Linked DNA regions of Homo sapiens: region 2 is linked to region 1. The links are contacts of gene promoters, found by promoter capture Hi-C in blood cells and fetal thymus (Javierre and others, 2016). All regions are on one chromosome and are shown on one strand. The core of a region is centred on a gene start or on the middle of the fragment in contact, and the rest is flanking DNA. Distances in the headings are between cores, read along the strand shown.

Region 1 (6,613 bases), core at 128-2,627:
GAAGGAACGAGTTGTCCTTTGACCTTTACTGGCCATTTCACCTCTTTATGACTCAATTTCTCATCCATAAAGTGGAAAGGAGAGTGCGTGGCTTGAAAAGTCATCAGTGAGTGTTTAATTCTTCTTTAATGGGTGTCTTCTATTATTATTATTATTCTACAGTGCAATTTAGTCATCAAATATTACAGGCAGTGGCTCACGCCTGTAATCCCAGCACTTCGGGAGGCCGAGGCAGGCTGATCACTTGAGGTCAGGTGTTCGAGACCTGCCTGGCCAACATGGTGAAACCCCGTCTCCACGAAAAATACAAAAATTAGCCGGCGTCGTGGCGCACGCCTGTAATCCCCGCTACTCGGGAGGCTGACGCAGGAGAATCGCTTGGACGCAGGAGGCGGAGGTTGCACTGAGCTGAGATCGTGCCACTGCATTCCAGCTTGGGCGACACAGCGAGACTCTGTCTCACAAAAAAAAAAAAAAGAAAGAAAAAAAAAGGAAAGGGCTTCGAGATGGCTGGTTGAAAACTGTCTCCGCGCCTCACAGTCCCTCTTCTCTCCCTTATGCCTCTGAGTAAATCTTGAGCCCTTTCACTCCCTTTCTCGCTATTTAAAGTATCAAAACCATAACTCCCCATTCGTGCCTCTTTCCGCCTGTTCCCGGCGGAACACTCCTCTGGCCTTCTCTTGAGGCTCCCAGTTCACGCTGCACAGTGCTGGGCACTGCCTCCTCTCCACACCCCTAGCGCCCCCCACCCCTCAGCAGAAGGGCCCGCGAGGAACCGTGCGAGGTCAGGCCGAGCGCCGGCACCGCCACCGGCACTGGCGCTGAGCGACGAGAGCGGACTCCTGCGAGCGCAGAGAGGGAGGGGGAGATGGAGGGCTGGATGAGTCACGCGGATAATCGCGCTCTTCTCCAGCGCGCAGACAGCGCGGCAAGCGCGTATGCTAGCAGGGGTGCGGACGCGTGACCGTGCCGCCCGCTGACCCCACCAGTCTTCGCGGGCTTCGAACCCAGGGAGCCGACAATGGCGGTGAGTACGGCCCTGGTCGCGCAGCGACCGAACCTGCGCCCGGTTCCTCGCGCCCCGCGCTGGGGCGGACGCCGCCGCCGCCGCCGACACCACTGCCGCCGGCGTCAGCTCGGCTCCAGCCCGCCAGCTGCCTGGCTGGCGTCACGGCCCGGCCCAGCCCCGCCCGCGCCCCTCCTTCCCCTCCCCCGCCCCCACGTGCGCCGAGTTTGTTGATTTAGCTGCCATAGCAACGATGGAAGGGAGCCTCGGGGGGGGCGGAGAGAAGAAAGGGAGGGGCGGGGCATGGGAGAAGGCGGAGGAAAAGGCTGTAGCGAAGGAAGTTATAAGTAAGGAACGCGCGCCGGCGGCCGGCAGTTTCCCGACCAGAGAGAACGAACGTGTCTGCGGGCGCGCGGGGAGCAGAGGCGGTGGCGGGCGGCGGCGGCACCGGGAGCCGCCGAGTGACCCTCCCCCGCCCCTCTGGCCCCCCACCCTCCCACCCGCCCGTGGCCCGCGCCCATGGCCGCGCGCGCTCCACACAACTCACCGGAGTCCGCGCCTTGCGCCGCCGACCAGTTCGCAGCTCCGCGCCACGGCAGCCAGTCTCACCTGGCGGCACCGCCCGCCCACCGCCCCGGCCACAGCCCCTGCGCCCACGGCAGCACTCGAGGCGACCGCGACAGTGGTGGGGGACGCTGCTGAGTGGAAGAGAGCGCAGCCCGGCCACCGGACCTACTTACTCGCCTTGCTGATTGTCTATTTTTGCGTTTACAACTTTTCTAAGAACTTTTGTATACAAAGGAACTTTTTAAAAAAGACGCTTCCAAGTTATATTTAATCCAAAGAAGAAGGATCTCGGCCAATTTGGGGTTTTGGGTTTTGGCTTCGTTTCTTCTCTTCGTTGACTTTGGGGTTCAGGTGCCCCAGCTGCTTCGGGCTGCCGAGGACCTTCTGGGCCCCCACATTAATGAGGTAGGTGAGGCGCGCGGCGCTGGGAGCAGGGAGGGGTGAGGACCGGTGGGACGCGCCGGAACGACGGCCGAAAGCCGCCCCTGACTCTCCTGTCTCCGCTCCCTGCCTTGCTCGCAGGCAGCCACCTGGCGAGTCTGACATGGCTGTCAGCGACGCGCTGCTCCCATCTTTCTCCACGTTCGCGTCTGGCCCGGCGGGAAGGGAGAAGACACTGCGTCAAGCAGGTGCCCCGAATAACGTGAGTATCGCTCCGGGCCGCCGGGAACGCCCGGTGGGTTTTCGTGGGTGTGGTGGGGGCGGGCGGAGCCTTGGGGTCACCAAGAGCCACTGAACGAGGGTAAGGAGCGGCCACCGCGCGGACTCCGCAACCTTCCCGGGATAGCTTCCGTGTCCTTGGCTCAGCTGTGTATGCCCGTGGTGCGAGCACTGCGGAGCCGCCTGGGGCGCAAGCCGGGTCTTCACCAGTCCCCGGGCGCGCTGTCGGTAGGGCGGGCGCTCTCGGGCCACCGGGCGGGAGGTGGCCGCGTCCCCAGACACTGGCTGGGCCAGAGTGAGTTTAGCGCGTAGGCGGCCCCGTGGCGAGAGCGCACCGAGAGAGCCTCGGTGTGCCAATTCCGGGGACGTCCACGGGACCTGGAGGGGGAGGGACCAGCCGCGGCGCTCGCTCACACGCAATTGGGCAGACAGGACATAACACCCGCAATACAGACGCATCACCTCTTCTTCGACCCGGGAGTGGGCCGAGATTGCAGCGCTGGCGCCCTGGGTTCCCGGGTGCTTCCTGCCTGACCAGTCCCCATGTCTGGGCGGTGCAGTCGCGCGTGGCCCGCCAGCACGTCAGTATGTCGGGTGGCAACAGGGGACCACCACTGACAGGTCTCTCCCGCCCTGTCCCCGCAGCGCTGGCGGGAGGAGCTCTCCCACATGAAGCGACTTCCCCCAGTGCTTCCCGGCCGCCCCTATGACCTGGCGGCGGCGACCGTGGCCACAGACCTGGAGAGCGGCGGAGCCGGTGCGGCTTGCGGCGGTAGCAACCTGGCGCCCCTACCTCGGAGAGAGACCGAGGAGTTCAACGATCTCCTGGACCTGGACTTTATTCTCTCCAATTCGCTGACCCATCCTCCGGAGTCAGTGGCCGCCACCGTGTCCTCGTCAGCGTCAGCCTCCTCTTCGTCGTCGCCGTCGAGCAGCGGCCCTGCCAGCGCGCCCTCCACCTGCAGCTTCACCTATCCGATCCGGGCCGGGAACGACCCGGGCGTGGCGCCGGGCGGCACGGGCGGAGGCCTCCTCTATGGCAGGGAGTCCGCTCCCCCTCCGACGGCTCCCTTCAACCTGGCGGACATCAACGACGTGAGCCCCTCGGGCGGCTTCGTGGCCGAGCTCCTGCGGCCAGAATTGGACCCGGTGTACATTCCGCCGCAGCAGCCGCAGCCGCCAGGTGGCGGGCTGATGGGCAAGTTCGTGCTGAAGGCGTCGCTGAGCGCCCCTGGCAGCGAGTACGGCAGCCCGTCGGTCATCAGCGTCAGCAAAGGCAGCCCTGACGGCAGCCACCCGGTGGTGGTGGCGCCCTACAACGGCGGGCCGCCGCGCACGTGCCCCAAGATCAAGCAGGAGGCGGTCTCTTCGTGCACCCACTTGGGCGCTGGACCCCCTCTCAGCAATGGCCACCGGCCGGCTGCACACGACTTCCCCCTGGGGCGGCAGCTCCCCAGCAGGACTACCCCGACCCTGGGTCTTGAGGAAGTGCTGAGCAGCAGGGACTGTCACCCTGCCCTGCCGCTTCCTCCCGGCTTCCATCCCCACCCGGGGCCCAATTACCCATCCTTCCTGCCCGATCAGATGCAGCCGCAAGTCCCGCCGCTCCATTACCAAGGTCAGTCCCGGGGATTTGTAGCTCGGGCTGGGGAGCCCTGTGTGTGCTGGCCCCACTTCGGGACACACGGGATGATGCTCACCCCACCTTCTTCACCCCTAGAGCTCATGCCACCCGGTTCCTGCATGCCAGAGGAGCCCAAGCCAAAGAGGGGAAGACGATCGTGGCCCCGGAAAAGGACCGCCACCCACACTTGTGATTACGCGGGCTGCGGCAAAACCTACACAAAGAGTTCCCATCTCAAGGCACACCTGCGAACCCACACAGGTAGGGGGACAAACTGCAGAAGGGAGGGGGGTTAGCTTCCAGCCCCATAGGCTACCAGTGGACACTCCTCAGTGCCTCCTTGACTTCCCAGGTTAGCTTCCAGCCCCATAGGCTACCAGTGGACACTCCTCAGTGCCTCCTTGGCTTCCCAGGGCAGTCTATCGCCTTGATCTCCGGGATCACTGGAGAGAACAGCAAACCGGCGCCTACTTTTCTGCCCAGGAGCCTTTTGCTTGATGGATGGTATCTGTGTTTGAATGTGCAATTTTGTTAGGCTTTTAAAAGGCAGGAGATTCCCCGCGGTCTGTGGGCCTCTCCTAGCTTGGCATTATAATCAAGAAATTATACTTTGCTATGCAAAAGCATGATGGCTTTTTTAAAAAAATCGTTTTTTAATGTTCCCTTCCCAGGTTCACCCTCCCTTTTTGTTATTTTGAATTCTGGTCGTAACAATTCGGTCTTACTTTTTTATTTTTTATTTTTTGTTCGTTTTGATTTACATTTTTATTTTTTTTCCCCCACAAGCAGAAGGTTTTATTTTAAATTCCAAGAATATGATGGTCAAAATTGCTGGGAAGATTCTGATTTAGGGTTGTCACTGCAGAGCATTTCCATGTCAATGTAAGTAGGTACCCAAAGTCGTTTAGGTGCAGCATTCAGTAACGTAAAGGTAAAGAAAAAAAAAGTAGCCACCTGTGGCTTTTTATCCCCAGTCGTAGTAGGAATAAGATTGCATGGTTTGGGCACACTACCAATCACAATTTCCAAATTTCATTTCCACCACTGAGATGCCTTGACTCAAATGAAACATTAGTATAGGTTTAGGTGGTGTTTGTGTGTTTTTGGTGAAACATTAGTATAGGTGTAGGTGGTGGTTGTGTGCTTAACTGACCCCCTAAAAACAAGACCAAATACTTAAGCACGGAATGTATTTCTGTTTATGATATGGAATTCAATACACCCCTTCAGTGGTATAAAGACATTCCTGGATTTCTTTAGGATAGGGTCAGAGTTGGTTTACTATCTGGCCTTCAGTTTTTAAAAGGGGCGATTCTTTGATATAGCAATAGCGTCAATTTTTTTTTTCTTTTACCTTTACAGGTGAGAAACCTTACCACTGTGACTGGGACGGCTGTGGATGGAAATTCGCCCGCTCAGATGAACTGACCAGGCACTACCGTAAACACACGGGGCACCGCCCGTTCCAGTGCCAAAAATGCGACCGAGCATTTTCCAGGTCGGACCACCTCGCCTTACACATGAAGAGGCATTTTTAAATCCCAGACAGTGGATATGACCCACACTGCCAGAAGAGAATTCAGTATTTTTTACTTTTCACACTGTCTTCCCGATGAGGGAAGGAGCCCAGCCAGAAAGCACTACAATCATGGTCAAGTTCCCAACTGAGTCATCTTGTGAGTGGATAATCAGGAAAAATGAGGAATCCAAAAGACAAAAATCAAAGAACAGATGGGGTCTGTGACTGGATCTTCTATCATTCCAATTCTAAATCCGACTTGAATATTCCTGGACTTACAAAATGCCAAGGGGGTGACTGGAAGTTGTGGATATCAGGGTATAAATTATATCCGTGAGTTGGGGGAGGGAAGACCAGAATTCCCTTGAATTGTGTATTGATGCAATATAAGCATAAAAGATCACCTTGTATTCTCTTTACCTTCTAAAAGCCATTATTATGATGTTAGAAGAAGAGGAAGAAATTCAGGTACAGAAAACATGTTTAAATAGCCTAAATGATGGTGCTTGGTGAGTCTTGGTTCTAAAGGTACCAAACAAGGAAGCCAAAGTTTTCAAACTGCTGCATACTTTGACAAGGAAAATCTATATTTGTCTTCCGATCAACATTTATGACCTAAGTCAGGTAATATACCTGGTTTACTTCTTTAGCATTTTTATGCAGACAGTCTGTTATGCACTGTGGTTTCAGATGTGCAATAATTTGTACAATGGTTTATTCCCAAGTATGCCTTAAGCAGAACAAATGTGTTTTTCTATATAGTTCCTTGCCTTAATAAATATGTAATATAAATTTAAGCAAACGTCTATTTTGTATATTTGTAAACTACAAAGTAAAATGAACATTTTGTGGAGTTTGTATTTTGCATACTCAAGGTGAGAATTAAGTTTTAAATAAACCTATAATATTTTATCTGAATAATGTTTTTTATTGTTTTGTTTTCCTCCTGGAAAAATATGAACAGTGTTTGGTTTAAACACACCGGGTTAATAAGGCATGTAAGAAGCACGCACAAAAAAGCCAACTTTATGTCAACAAATTAAAATACCTTTTTTTATTAAAAAAAAACTATTTAGTTTTACCATAAATACTATCAATATAGGGCTGAGAACTCTTGATTATTGTACGTTTAAAAATTACAAGATTAAAAACCCAGTTCAGGTTTGCTCTTTCCAAATGTACGTAAAGCTACGTGAAAGCAGTTTCCTTACCTATGATTTTCCCAGTAGAAACAGCT
Region 2 (6,568 bases), core at 770-3,269, 140 kb before region 1:
TTACAGGCGTGAGCCACTGCGCCCGGCCAGATTCTTGCTTTCTTATTCACTGGAAACTACCTCACGCTAGTCATATAGTTCTTGCCACAGAATTATTTGCAAAAACCAGTGCTAGGCTGGAAAGTCAGAAACACTTGGATTTGATTCCCTGTGCTGATGTTTACCAGGCAAAGACCTTAACCCCTCTAAGACTCAGTTTGTTCACCTGTAAAACAGGGATAATAATACTGACTCAACAATTGTTGCAATGGTTAATTTAGGCTAAATGCTACCCCCACAACCCACCAGACCCCCACATAGTGCCTGGTACAAAGTGAGTGCTCAATAAATGGCAGTGTCCTTCTAACCCTCCTCTGTCAACTCTTTATTCACACTTATCCTATCTTTACATTAGCTGGTTGGCACGTCATGTCTTCAGCTTCTCTGTTCCTCCTGGTGTCTAGCCGGTCTGAGGCACATAGTAGACACAGTCAGAACAGAAGCAAGGGAGGGTTGCTGTGCGTTTCCACTTAGGCTGTATATTTTCCGAGATAGCAGCAAATGTCTTATCTTTAACTCCTCACTGTCTCTCTCTCTCCTGCTAGAATGATCCTTTCCACCTTTGTAAATCCAGGATGCAGCTAGGTGAATGAGCGCATGGGTGAATGAACCGGCAAATGCCTCCCATTTCCTCACATGACCTGAAGCCTGAACATTGGCTTTAATTTTCAAGCAAGTTTCATTTTAACTCAGGCATTGTCTGAGAGCCAGGATTTCTTTGGAATGCTCATTTACCTTGATGGTTGTGTATTCAAAACCCACCACAGCTCAAATGATCTTATTTACATGCAGTTCTATTTAGCAGTGAACAGGCAGGGGACCTTCCATCACAGTCCAGTCCTTTGTTGGGACAAAAACTGCCCCTATTCGAATTTCCACTGTGCTGACATACCACCGCTCCAAAAGAGGAAAGTCCTAAGGAATCAAAAAGAAAAAGAGAGGGAGGGAAGGATCCAGCTCAAGCCAGCACACCTCCACCTCCCCTGAATAATGTATGTCTGATTTGTTTGTTTTCCTTCTGCAAGGTTGGCTGGCCTTGCCTCCTCTTTAATAGATACATTTTTTTAAAAAAATCAGAACTGGTTGAGTTCCAACTATGTGCCATTTCTTTTCACACATCTTATATAATTTCATTCTCATCTCATTCATTTTATAGATGAAAAACAGTCTCAGAGAGGTTAGGAAGTTTCCCTTCCGTCACACATCTAGAAGATGCCACTGCATGCTGAGAGCACTTTCAAATTCTTTTTCTCCAGTCTTCCCCAACAACTCACAGCCACCCAACATATGGGCTTGCGCACATACACACCATACTCACACTTCATTGACTATGTTTTAGAGAAAGATTCAACACTGGAAGAAGCTTACTTATTGAAACAGAGTGTATCATTCTGGGAAAGATCAATTCACAAATTCACAACAGGAGGAAAAGGGAGGAAAAGGGAGATACAATCAGGAAAGAACGCAGGGAAAGTTTAAGCTGTATTTGGTAACATTTTATCTGTTAGGCTGGATGGCATTTACACGAGTGTTTGTATGTTGGACTTTGTAAGTGTTCATTTATTGTAAATCTGTCATAATACATTTTCAGATTTAGCAGCATTGCCCGTGCTCACTCCCAGTTCTTGCCATCCACACATACATCACCAGACATACACACTGACAAACACAGAGCCATACTCCGCACACCGACAAGTACACACAAGCACCGACACACACTCATCCATACACATTCACACATTTATCTTCACGTGTTGAGTCACGAGAACCCCCACACTGGCTCGTGTTGACAAGCACACACTCACACACACACAAACACACTGCCTGCTAACGTAGCCTCTGACCACCCCTCTTCTCCAGTCAAGGACAACAGGGTCAGATGCAGAGACCCTAAAATCTGGGAGGCTGAGATGACACCAGCTGAGCGATGGGCCCACCTGAAATTGCACAGAGTGGGAAGGCACAAGGCCTGCTTCAGGGAGCTGGCACAGGCAGGTGCCACTGACGGCCAGTCACACGAGACCCGTGTGTGTCCCCCAGGCCCAGGCAGATGTTCTCTCTCACCACAGGCTCCTCTAGGAAGGGACAGAGTTAAGGAGCAGAGGGAAGACTCTGGTGTTTCACAGTTTGGGGTGGGAAGCAGTAACTTGTGTGGGAAACAAACTCCTCGGAAACCATAGCAACACCCATTTGGCAGCTCTGGATTGGACCCTGACCAGACATTTATTAAGCAGCCGCATAAGCTGTGGTCTCCAGAAGAACAATACCAAACTGATCAAATGTTAATAGCTTCAATCTGTTCCTCCTCACACAGCTCCTACCCATCCCCCTCTCTCAACAGACTTTGCATTTCTGCTTCTTAGCCTCAGCAGAAGACCGCCTCTGCTGCTACCCTAGAGCCTAAGTTCAAGTCCAGGACCACGAGGCATGTGCAGGTGACTTAGAGTGCAGAGATGGAAGGCAGGTCTCACCAGGGGGCCCTTGGGGTCTAAATGGGGCCATTCTTCGGTTAGACTCACCGAGCTGAATAGTGTCCAAGATCATGTGATTGGATACTTCTTAACCTCACTGCTTTTAAGAATTAGCTGGTAAGCTTTAAAAAAAAAAAAAAAAAAAAAGTCAATGTAATCTGAGTCTCTAGGGAACAGGGTCTGATCATTTGTATTTTTTAAATTTCCTCAGTCAATTCTAATATGCAGCCAGTATTGAGAACCACCGCATAATTTCAGCTCCTTGTAGAAGTGGGGGTGGGGAAGCCCAAAGAGGGACAGGGACTTGCCCAAGGTCACAGAGCTGGTGAGACACCATGCTGAGGGAGAACCCAGACATCCTAACCCTAGACAAGTCGTGTTCATTTTCCTGGGCAACAGCACTCTATGTGAGTCTTAAAAATGTATCCCTCTCCAGCCAGGCGTGGTGGCTCACACCTGTAATCCCAACACTTTGGGAGGACGAGGCAGCTGGATCACCTGAGGTCAGGAGATCAAGACCATCCTGGCTAACATGGTGAAACCCCTTCTCTACTAAAAACATAAAAATCAGCTGGGCTTGGTGGCGCCTGCCTGTAATCCCAGCTTCTCGGGAGGCTGAGGCAGGAGAATCAGTTGAACCAGGAAGTTGGAGGTTGCAGTGAGCTGAGATCACGCCACTGCACTCCAGCCTGGTGACAGAGCCAGACTCTGTCTCAAAAAAAAAAGTATCCCTCTCTTTAACTCACTATGGGTCCTGCTCTTTTCTGCCAGGACTTGGGGGTCGAGGAGGTGGTTGCAGGGGAAGGTGATAAAATGAATCCAAGGAGGATGCCAGAAAATGTGTTTTTGTGCTGGGTTTTGTTTTGTTTTTGTTTTTGCTCTGTTGTGCAGGCTGGAGTGCAGTGGCGCAGTCTTGGCTCACTGCAACCTCCGCCTCCCAGGTTCAAGGGATTCTTGTGCCTCAGCCTCCCAAGTAGCTGCTACCAGGCCCAGCTAATTTTTTGTATTTTTAGTAGAGACAGGGTTTCACTATGTTGGCCAGGCTGGTCTCAAACTCTTGGCCTCAAGTGATCCTCCTCCCTCCAGCCTCCCAAAGTGCTGGGATTTATAGGTGTGAGCTACTACACCCAGCCCAGAAAATGTAGTTTTAACAAAAATATAAAGGACCAGATATTCAAGACATCACGACAGTCACACTGACTGGTTTACATTTGCCATAGTTAAGACAGAATTTATCATGGCTAAACATGGGACTCTCCAACCAGATACCCAGGCCCCCAAGCCCCAAGCCTGGGAAATATCTTCACTTCCTCCAGTGTCATTAGTGCCCCTGTGAAGTCGGTCTCCGCGCTGTGAAGAGTCTACCTCATAGGGATATGGCGACATCCTCAGAAGCATTGGTTGATTTCCCAATCCATACCACCATCCTCTCTCACCCAAAATGCCTAACCAGCCTCCCTCCACAGGCAGAGGTTCTGTCATCCATCCTCCACAGAGCCGCCAAAACATTCTCTCTAGAACACACATCTGGCTATGCTGCCCCATGGCCAAAGCCTCTGTTTTTAGGTGCACCCAAGCAGCTTGCTCATTGCACACTGACCACATCCCACCCTCTAGGTGAAGGCCAGGGACTCCAGTGGGAAATAAGATAAACATGGTCCCAGCTAGTGTTCAAGTTATATTCTCCATGAGGAGACCAACACTGACTAATCATGCGACTGCAACAGCTACAGAGCTGAAAGAGGGGTAATACTGAGAGAGTGTGTAATGGGGGTCACATTGCCCTCTCTGGCCACGTCAAGAATGGATTGTTCTGGCCAGGTGCAGTGGCTCACAGCTGTAATCCCAGCACTTTGGGAGGCCGAGGCAGGTGGATCACTTGAGGTAAGGAGTTTGAGACCAGCCTGGCCAACATGGAGAAACCCCATCTCTACTAACAGTACAAAAATTAGCCGAGCATGGTAGCACACACCTGTAATCCCAGCTACTCAGGAGGCTGAGGTAGGAGAATCGCTTGAACCCAGCAGGCGGAGGTTCCAGTGATCCGAGATTGCACCACTGCACTCCAGCCTGGGTGACAGGCCAGACTCCATACCAAAAAAAAAAAAAAAAAAAAAAAATGGATTTTTCTGAGCAAAGGATGGGATGTTTAATCTGATATCTGAAGGGTGAGGGAGTTAAGAAAAAGGGGAGGAAGAATGGTCTCAACAAAGGGAACAATGATATGCACAGATGCTCTGGGTGGTACAGGAGCACAGTCTAGGACCCAAGAGCAAGGAGAGAGGGGTGCACAATGAGGCAGGTCAGGGGTCAGATCACACAGAGCCTTTTAAGTCATGGAAGAGATTTGGGGTTTAGCCTTTGGATTTTAGTAGAGTGACTAACCATACCAGTGTGCCTGGGCTGAGGTGTTTCCCAGGGTGTAGAACTTATAGTGCCAAGATATGGAGGGATGGTGGGGAGGGTGGAGAGTACCAGGACTGCGGGAGGGTAACGAACTCAGTGGCTGAGTTTGGGAAGTTAGTGCAGTATTCAAGTGGAAATGTTAGCTAAGCTCCTATTTCTACCGGTCTGAAACTAGAGATCTTTGCAGAAAGAAATAGGTGTGGGAGCTATCAGCTCAGAGAAGGTAATTGAAGTATGGGAGTTGAATAGTCAACCAAGAGATAAAGTAAAAAGAAAGCTGGCAGATAAAATAAACTCCAGCCTTCATGAACCCCAGTGTATAAAGATCTGGTAGCTAAAGGTGAAAACAAGTAAAGGAGGCTGAGAAGGAGCAGCCAAGGCTCTCCAGCAGGAAAACCATGAGTCTGTGGGGTCTCTATGCATGAGAAGAGGGAGGGTCAGCAGGACAGAATGTTCCACCGTCATCAATGCCACTAGAAAATCTAACCAAACAACTGGGAAATACCAACGGACAATGGAATGTGGAGGTCATGATGACCTTGTGAAGCAGCAAAGGTAGAGGTGGATTGGGGCGTGATTGGAGGGGGAGGGAAATGGAGACGATGCGCATAGCACAGAACATTTATTTGAAAAATTTGGCTGGGAGGGAAATTGATGAGTCAGGAGCTGGAGTAAGATGTGAGGTGGAGTGAGGGTTTGCTGTAAGATGAGAGACCTGAGTGCGGGTAAACGTTGATGGGGAGGATCCAGCAGAAAAGGAGGGATCAGACAACGTAGGAGTCCCCACAACTCACCGCACACTGCCTCCTGCAAGCTCTGCACACCGCGCCTCCAAACACTCCATGCATTCTTTGCCTGATACGCACCCTCCCTTTATCCGTGATAACTCTTACTGGAATCAAAGGACCACCCCGGGAAGCCGTCCCTCATCTGTATTTGTACAGCCCAGCACATGCACCTCTGCCACAGCACCCAAATTTGGCTGCTTTCCATGTGGTCTCTCCTGCTAAATGGTGAGCTCTTCAAAGGCACAAAACTCACTCCAAATCTTAGCCCACGCATTGGCTGGCCCAGAGTACATGCTCAGTAAACACTTGTAGAATGAATAAATGAATGAACAATGTTAGTAATCAACAATAAACTAGAAGATGCACATGACCAACATTGAGGACTTCTGGGTTGGCAAGAAGGGTGAGTTCTGTTCCCCAGAAGCAGGGCCCTCAAAGAAGCTGGTTCCTACGATCCCTGAAAGGGGGAAGGGGACTGGAAGGCAGGGTGTGGTGGACTCCTCACCGAGCTCACATTCTTCCCTTCCATTGTTCCTGGCGGCTGCACATGGAAAGTACAACACCCACTAAGGCCCATGTGTTTCCCTCCTGCCCTCCCTCAGCAGGGAGGGAACAGATGGGTGTAATTTATGCCCACACCCTCCTCTTGCAGCCTTGGCACTGGGGAGAGGGGACGCAGGGGCAGAGACCCACCCAGGTTCCACAAACTTCTCTCAGTACTGAGGCAAGAGAGCCACAGCAGGGGCTAGCTGGGCCAGGAGCAGGAGAGGACAGGCAGAGGGGAGGAGGGGGATAAAAAGAACAGAACTGCCATGTGGGAGTGTCCATGGCATTCCAGCATTGTGCCAGGTGGGTGCATACATT

What was found. The method cuts DNA at HindIII sites, captures the fragments that hold promoters and counts their contacts. A CHiCAGO score of 5 or more calls a contact.
Region 2: a contact is called between a fragment that was not itself captured here and the fragment with the promoter of KLF4 in region 1, in 1 of 17 cell types (monocytes). The highest score is 5.7, in monocytes.

The regions. Positions count from the first base shown.
Region 1 is chr9:107,484,533-107,491,145 of GRCh38, reverse strand. It overlaps KLF4 (KLF transcription factor 4), which reads left to right and starts at 1,377. Exons shown (of 5, transcript NM_004235.6): 1 at 1,377-1,978; 2 at 2,096-2,216; 3 at 2,879-3,851; 4 at 3,954-4,118; 5 at 5,220-6,294. The coding sequence starts at 1,974. The coding sequence ends at 5,395. RefSeq lists silencers at 1,096-1,305, 1,665-1,864, 2,516-2,565. The HindIII fragment of the contact is 11,219 bases long and covers 1-6,613 here.
Region 2 is chr9:107,627,670-107,634,237 of GRCh38, reverse strand. It overlaps LOC105376205 (a long non-coding RNA gene), which reads right to left. Exons shown (of 9, transcript XR_930217.2): 8 at 2,559-2,632. Among named protein-coding and RNA genes, the nearest start is that of KLF4, 140 kb to the right of the region's middle. RefSeq lists an enhancer at 1,301-1,938. The HindIII fragment of the contact is 1,230 bases long and covers 1,405-2,634 here.